2 separate regions of the Homo sapiens genome follow, and region 1 is linked to region 2. Evidence: promoter capture Hi-C in 16 types of primary human blood cells and fetal thymus (Javierre and others, 2016). All regions are on one chromosome and are shown on one strand. The core of a region is centred on a gene start or on the middle of the fragment in contact, and the rest is flanking DNA. Distances in the headings are between cores, read along the strand shown.

The links. The method cuts DNA at HindIII sites, captures the fragments that hold promoters and counts their contacts. A CHiCAGO score of 5 or more calls a contact.
Region 1: a contact is called between a fragment that was not itself captured here and the fragment with the promoter of AQP7 in region 2, in 1 of 17 cell types (endothelial precursors). The highest score is 5.7, in endothelial precursors.

Annotation. Positions count from the first base shown.
Region 1 is chr9:33,277,472-33,281,333 of GRCh38, forward strand. It overlaps CHMP5 (charged multivesicular body protein 5), which reads left to right. Exons shown (of 8, transcript NM_016410.6): 7 at 642-754; 8 at 3,338-3,862. The coding sequence ends at 3,388. Among named protein-coding and RNA genes, the nearest start is that of NFX1, 11 kb to the right of the region's middle. The HindIII fragment of the contact is 1,866 bases long and covers 1,328-3,193 here.
Region 2 is chr9:33,400,442-33,403,932 of GRCh38, forward strand. It overlaps AQP7 (aquaporin 7), which reads right to left and starts at 2,127. Exons shown (of 8, transcript NM_001170.3): 1 at 1,932-2,127; 2 at 796-846. The coding sequence starts at 821. LOC105376020 (a long non-coding RNA gene) reads left to right here and starts at 1,080. Exons shown (of 3, transcript NR_188543.1): 1 at 1,080-1,381; 2 at 1,467-1,707. RefSeq lists a silencer at 1,050-1,344. The HindIII fragment of the contact is 7,387 bases long and covers 1-3,491 here.

The sequences.
Region 1 (3,862 bases), core at 1,011-3,510, 120 kb before region 2:
GAGTAGGGGATAGCATGAAAAAATGAGAAGGGTTGTCGAATGGCCTCAGGGAGAGCAGTCTGGAAGTTATTGCGATAGCCATTTAAGAGATGATGGTGGCCGAGACTAGCTAGGGTGATGGTAGCAGAAACAGACAGAAGTGGACAGATTGAAGACATCTTAGAAAATTGAGTGGACAAGACTTAATGATTGACAGGATGTGGAAGAAGTGGGAGGTGTCAAGGGTGGCTGTCAGTTTCTAGCATGAGTAACTGGGTAGATGACAGAACCATTCCACACTGGATTTCTATTGTGTGATTCCCCTGTTACATTACTACTGCTGCTTTCCCGCTCTCTCCATGGTCTATTTTTGCCTAGAACCTTTCATTTTTTTTCCACTTATTTCTTTATTTTTTAATTTCCCATCTTCAATTGCCCCTGATAAGTCTCTACCTGCTATTGTCATTCCTCTTGGCCACTTCCAACTCATTTTACCACAGACTTATTTTTGGAGTCTGATTTCACGTAATGGTCACACAGCATACAACAATCTCATGCCCTCTTCACTGCCTTCTTTCAAGTCCATCGATAAATGAGAGAAATTATTAGCTGCCAGTTTTCTTGGTTACATTTTTTTTAAATGTTGACTGTTTCAATCTCAGAGTTGGATGCACTAGGTGATGAGCTTCTGGCTGATGAAGACAGTTCTTATTTGGATGAGGCAGCATCTGCACCTGCAATTCCAGAAGGTGTTCCCACTGATACAAAAAACAAGGTGAAAGCTTTTTCTGTTTATATTTCAATGCAAAATAGCAAAGGCTTTATGCTTGACCATAAGTCTGGGAATCTAAAAGGTAGTCTTAACATTAGAACAAAGAAAGACAGTCCTGGTCATTATTTTGTGAACCCTTGAAGGTCCGGTTTTTCTGCATTGGATGATGAACTGACTGCATAAACACTGTCACTGAGGCTCAGGAATATTTTTATAGAATGACAATTTGTGTAACATACATGATCACCCTTGTTGTGAGCTGGCACTGGGTACCATTGATGGGTCTTAGACATTTCCTGTAAAAGCGTAAGCAACACATGCATGAGACTTGCTAGGCAGCAGTGAAAAAGTCTCACTCTTCATACACACCAGTTAATTACTGGCTGGATTTTTAATTTTATTTTCCTTTCTTTTTCTTTTTTTTTTTTCCTGTACACACAGGAGTTTAGAATGGGTGGATTTTCTAAACTATGGATTAATAATTTAAGCATAAAACTTAATGTAGAAAGATTCTAATTTAAGGCAAAAGAATCAGAACACCTGACACTAAGTATGACTAATTACTTAGCTATTGTAAGCTTTTCTTTTCCTTGCATCTGTAAAATGCAGATAATTACAAGTATCTCACGTAATTGTTGTGCAAGCAAATTAGATCTTGTATGTAAAGGACTGTGCAAACTTAAAGCTCTGTCCAAATCTACATGATTGTCTTTTTTTTTGAGACAGAGACTCATTCTGTCACTCAGGCTGGAGTGCAGTGGCGTGATCTCAGCTCACTGCAACCTCCGCCCCCCTGGTTCAAGCAATCCTCGTGCCTCAGCCACCCCAGGTAGCTGCGATTACAGGTGCGCGCCAACATGCCTGGCTAATTTTTGTATTTTTAGTAGAGACGGGGTTTCACCATGTTGGCCAGACTGGTCTCAAACTCCTGGTCTCAGGTGATCTGCCTGCCTCAGCCTTCCAAAGTGCTGGGATTACAGGCATGAGCCACTAATAATGACAACCAGGCTGGGCAAGGTGTGACTTTGAGCAAAATAGCAGAAATTTATGTCTTCTTTTTGAACCTCATCAGTTTTTCCTACCTGTAAAATGTGAGAGCAAAGGGCAGGGAGCAGGTAATTTCTTAGGTCCATTATTACTGGTTTCTGTGAGTATGCATCTTCCTCTATTGTATCCTTCCCTTCTCTGTTGAGCCTGGGATAGTCTTGCCTTTCTGAACTGCCCACTCCTCCCCGACCTCTCTGGCAACTTCAAGGTCCCAGGTCCATGGGTTGCTTTTTCTCAGCAACCCATGAAATAATTTTTATTAATACTACCATAGTCCACCTTGTTAATTTTCTAGTAACAAGTCCCTGTAGCGGCCAGGCGCGGTGGCTCAAGCCTGTAATCCCAACACTTTGGGAGGCTGGGGCAGGCGGATCACGAGGTCAAGAGATCGAGACCATCCTGGCCAACATGGTGAAACCCCGTCTCTACTAAAAATATAAAAAATTAGCTGGGCGTGGTGGCAGGCTCCTGTAATCCCAGCTACTTGGGAGGCTGAGGCAGGAGAATCACTTGAAGCCGGGAGGCGGAGCTTGCAGTGAGCCGAGGTCGTGCCATTGTACCACTCCAGCCTGGGCAAAAAGAGCAAAACTCAATCTCAAAAAAAAAAAAAAAAAAAAAGTCCCTGAAGCATCTATGTTATTTCCACTTTGAGAAGGTCACAGATTCCTGAGTTATATATGCTGTGGATATATGGGGGTTTTGTTGTTGTTGTTGTTTTATCTTTTTGAGATGGAGTCCCGCTGTGTCACCCAGGCTGGAGTGCAGTGGCACAATCTCAGCTCACTGCAACCTCCACCCCCGGATTCAAGCAATCCACCCACCTCAGCCTCCCAAGTAGCTGAGATTACAGGCATGCTTCACCACACCTGGCTAATTTTTTTGTTTTTAATAGAGATGGGATTTCACTATGTTGGTCAGGCTGGCCTCGAACTCCTGACCTCAAATGATCCACCTGCTTCAGCCTCCCAAAGTGCTGGGATTACAGGCCTGAGCCACCGCGCCCGGCCTGTTGTTGTTTTTAAAGTAAAGGAATAAAAGAATGGCTACTCCATAGGCAGAGCAGCCCTGGTGTTTTCATTGATAGTGATGTCGCTGCCTATGATTATAGTAAAGCATGATATGGAAGTGACTGCCTATCCACGGGCACTGCTCCTTCAAGGATTTGGGAGGCTAAGAAAGGTATTGGTCCAGAGTGAAAATGCAAATCTGGAGGCAAGGACCCACTCCTCAACCTTTCCTTTTTGACTCTCCCAGCCTCCTTTTCCCCTTTCCAGGTTTACTCTTAGATTTCTCTTTCTCCCTCTTTCACTCTCTTTCCCCTGTGGAGGAGCCCCCTTTTGGCCCTTTCTAGTTCTCTTCTTGATTCATCACTTCCTCCTTTACCTTTCATGAAAAAGCTTGTTCTCATCTTATGACTGCGATTTTGGTTTTGATTGATTAAATACTTGGAAATGAGTTTTAACTATTAAATGTTTGTAATCCTTTTTTTTTTTATCAAATAGAAAAATAGTGGCACTAAACATTGCTTCCTTTTTACAGGATGGAGTTCTGGTGGATGAATTTGGATTGCCACAGATCCCTGCTTCATAGATTTGCATCATTCAAGCATATCTTGTAAAACAAACACATATTATGGGACTAGGAAATATTTATCTTTCCAAATTTGCCATAACAGATTTAGGTTTCTTTCCTTTCTTTGAAGGAAAGTTTAATTACATTGCTCTTTTATTTTTTCCATTAAGAGACTCATTGCTTGGGAAATGCTTTCTTCGTACTAAAATTTGATTCCTTTTTTTCTTATGAAAAACGAACTCAGTTTAAAAGTATTTTTAGCTCGTATGACTTGTTTTCATTCATTAATAATAATTTGAAATAAAACTAAGGAAATGGAATCTTAAAAGTCTATGACAGTGTAACTCTACAGTCTCAAAATGACCTGATAAATTGATAAGACAAAGATGAGATTATTGGGGCTGTTCATATTATGATTCAGAATCATTTTCTATTGTGGTATTATAGGTTGGTTAAAGTGATGGCCTTTTTGATGGGTTTTGTTGTGTCTTG
Region 2 (3,491 bases), core at 877-3,376:
AGACTAGTCACCAGAGGACTCTCAGCATGTTTGAAGAAAGCAAAGAAAGTCAGTGTGAGGCCAGGTGCAGTGGCTCACACCTGTAATCCCAACCTTTTGGGAGGCCAAGGCGGGTGGATCACCTGAGGTCAGGAGTTCAAGAACAGCCTGGCGAACATGGCGAAACCCCATTTCTACTAAAAATACCAAAATAATAATAATAATAATTAGCTGGGTGTGGTAGTGTGTGCTTGTAATCCTGTAATCACAGCTACTCAGGAGGCTGAGGCAAGAGAATCGCTTGAACCCGGGAGGAGGAGGTTGCAGTGAGCCAAGATCATGCCATTGCACTCCAGCCTGGGCGACAGAACTGGATTCCATCTCGGAAAAAAAAAAAAACCTGAAAAGAAACTCAGTGTGGCTGGAGGAGGGAGAGCAGGGGGCTGGAGTGGGGAGGCCAGAAAGCTAACAAGGCTGGGCCTTGGCCATTGCAAGGACTGGCTCTTGTTCACCCCAAAGACAGCTGAGCCTGAGAGGGTGAGAGGTGCTGAGTGCAGTTGAGTTGAAGGCCACCTGCATGCCTTGACCCTCATCCAAGTATTTCTGAGCCTCCCCTCACCCCAGGACCCAGCCCAGGCAACAGGTGGAAGATGCTCTTCTTCTGGGACCTCAGAGGCGAGTGGGTGGGTGGGGAGGAGGAGGTCGAGTGGGGACAGCTGCCCCAAGGGAGAGGCTGAGGATGGAACAGGGAGGGCACTGAAGTGGGCTGGGTGAAGGACAGGGGGCTGGAGGGTGAGAAGAGGGTGGGGTACTTACCGCCTGTGCCCGGATGCTTGAACCATGTTTTGTCTTTCAGATTTGTAGATGCTGAGGAGCCAAAGAGAGGTCACTAGGGCTGGAGGACACAGAACTTGGCCCCACACTTCCATCAGACCTTGGTCCCCAGGGGAGAAGCCCTGGGGCAGCTCCTGCTAGTGCCACTCCCTTAACCCAGCCAAGGAACAGGGAGGGAGGAGCGGTGCTCAGCCAATGAGGCGACGCCCTGGAGCCCCACCCCACCCATGCTGGCCCCAGGACCCCAGCCCCAGGCCAGACCCTCCAGTGCTCCTGCTGACCTTCCGTGTCTGCAGCCCGGCTTTGGACTGTGGAGATGCCCTCAGCCTCTACTCAGTGGCTCCAGCCTCATATTTGCGTGCTATACCTTTAACCTCAAGTCCTCTTGCTGCTAACTTAAGCTGCGACTGTCCAGGACCTGCACACACACACACATGCACGCATGCACACACACACACACAGAAGGTGAACACACAGGATGAGGCCCTGAAAACTCATTTCACCCGTGTACCTCACCCAAAAATTCCCCTTTGTACTCCTATCTTTATCTCTAACTGACAGCATGAAGGTAGCCCGAAGTCCCCTCACCCTGTCTGTCCTCCTGATTCTCTAGCCCAGTTCCCTCTAGCTCCAGCACAGACTCTTATCTCCAGCCCTGACTGCCGAAACCCTCCAGCCCCAGCTCCAGCCCCTCAGGAGGGGACTGCGTGGGAGGAATGACTCCAGCAAGCCGGCAGCTGACCCGTCTCCTGCCTGCACGCCTCCCGCTGTGGTCCACTGCCGGTGGTCTTCAGCTCTCTCCTCGTCCCACCCCCATGGTCTGCTGACAGCCCAGCTCAGTGCATCCCTGCCATCTCTGCTCTACCGCTGGTCCTCCCAACAACCAACTTACAGGTAAGGAAACTGAGGCCCAGAGAGAGGGTGTATGTGCCTGTGTCACACAGCAACACAGGACTGCACCATAACAAGAAAGCCGGGACTTCCACTCCCAGACGGGGCTCCTTCCCCAAACAATCCCTCAGTCACCTCCTCCCTGTATGGTACCCAGGGAATGGCCCTTCCAGATCTGGGCGCTGAGGAGGCTGCCCCATCCCCACCCTGCCTGGAGCCCCACTCACTCTGCTGAAATGTCTCTGATTCTCAGCCTCCGCCTTGGGGGCTTCTCAGTTACAGCGCATCTTGATCTTGTTCCTCCGTGACTGTCCCTGGCTCAGCTTCCACCCCCAGCTGGGGCTCAGCTATCCCTGTGTCCCCAGTCCAGAGCCTGCCTCTCAGCTCTCCCAGGGCGGCCTCGAGCGCTGCTCCTGCTCCTCCAGGGGAGAGGTCAGTAAGGCAGGGGTTTGGCTGGTGCCACTTGAACCAAGTCCAGATGCACTGCCCAAAATAACATCCCTCGTCCGGCCAGCAGTGCCGTGGAGACCGAGTTCTGAAGCAGGCCTTTGTGAGGTCAGAGGTGGAGCTCTGGGTGGGCACTCTGGGCCTCTCAGTCCCAGAGGAAAGGCCTGTCCTCCAAGCCAATGTGCAGCCTGACTCTGGGGCCAGCGCCTGAGGAAGCCCTCCCTGAGCCCCAGCCCTGGGGAAGGCTGAAGAGGCCTCTGAGCCCCCAGCGCTGGGGAGAGCTGTGCAGAATAGGACTGGAGGTGGAAGTGTTGGAGATTAACAGCCAGGTGGAGGGGACGGGGGAGGCCCTGGGTCAGTCCTCAGGGAACCCCCATTGTGAAGGGGGAAAGGGAAACTCAGGCCCAGTCCTCAGGGGCCCCCAGTCTGAGAGGAAGGAGGACACACGAGCCATATTTGCAGAGAAACACCAGCCTGCGAGAGGAGGTAGAAGCCCAGGCCTGGCCCTCCGAGGGCCCCTAGTCTGAGGAGCAGTCCACCTGTCCTCGGGAAAACACCTCCCTTAGGAAAGGCCAGCAAGGCCCCCGTAAAGGACCCAGAGCTGGATCGGGACATCGGGCTCGGGGCTCAGCGGTGTGGGAGCTCCGGGACCGAGGTGCAGTCAGGAGAGACCCTGGGGGCCAGCAGCAGTCCCAGAGGACTTTTGGAGCCAAGGCCTGACTGGGTCTCAAACAATGGGGCAGGCAGTTTGGGGTTTCAGCAGGTGGCCCAGTGCTGAGACACAAGGGAGGTGTTTCTGGTCTGCAGACACTGAGGACGCTTGCTATGTGGCGTGGTGGACGGTGGGTAAGTCCTGGGAACTTCCGGCACCAGGCTCCATGGGTGGGAAGGGGCATAAGATTCAGTTGTCCAAAGCTCAGGTCTGGGAATGGAACTGTCCTGTAGAGGGTGCCAAAGACCAGGTCTGGAACCTGCATAGCCCCAGTCCCCACCCCTGCACACACCCTCCCACCCCTTCCAGCTTTTTCTGCAGATCTTTCTGCAGGGGTGAGGCAGGGAGAGGAAGGGGTCGGCCACAGTCCCGGGGCTTCCTAGTCAGAAGCCCTCTGTAAGGCACTAACTTCCCTCTGCAGATTCTTTTTTTTTTGAGACGGAGTCCCGCTCCGCCCAGGCTGGAGTGCAGTGGCACAGTCTTGTCTCACCACAATCTCTGCCTCCCAGTTCAAGTGATTCTCCTGCCTCAGCCTCCCAAGTAGCTGGGATTACAGGCATGCACCACCAAGCCCAGCTAGTTTTTTTGGATTTTTAGTAAAGACGGGGTGTCACCATGTTGGTCAGGC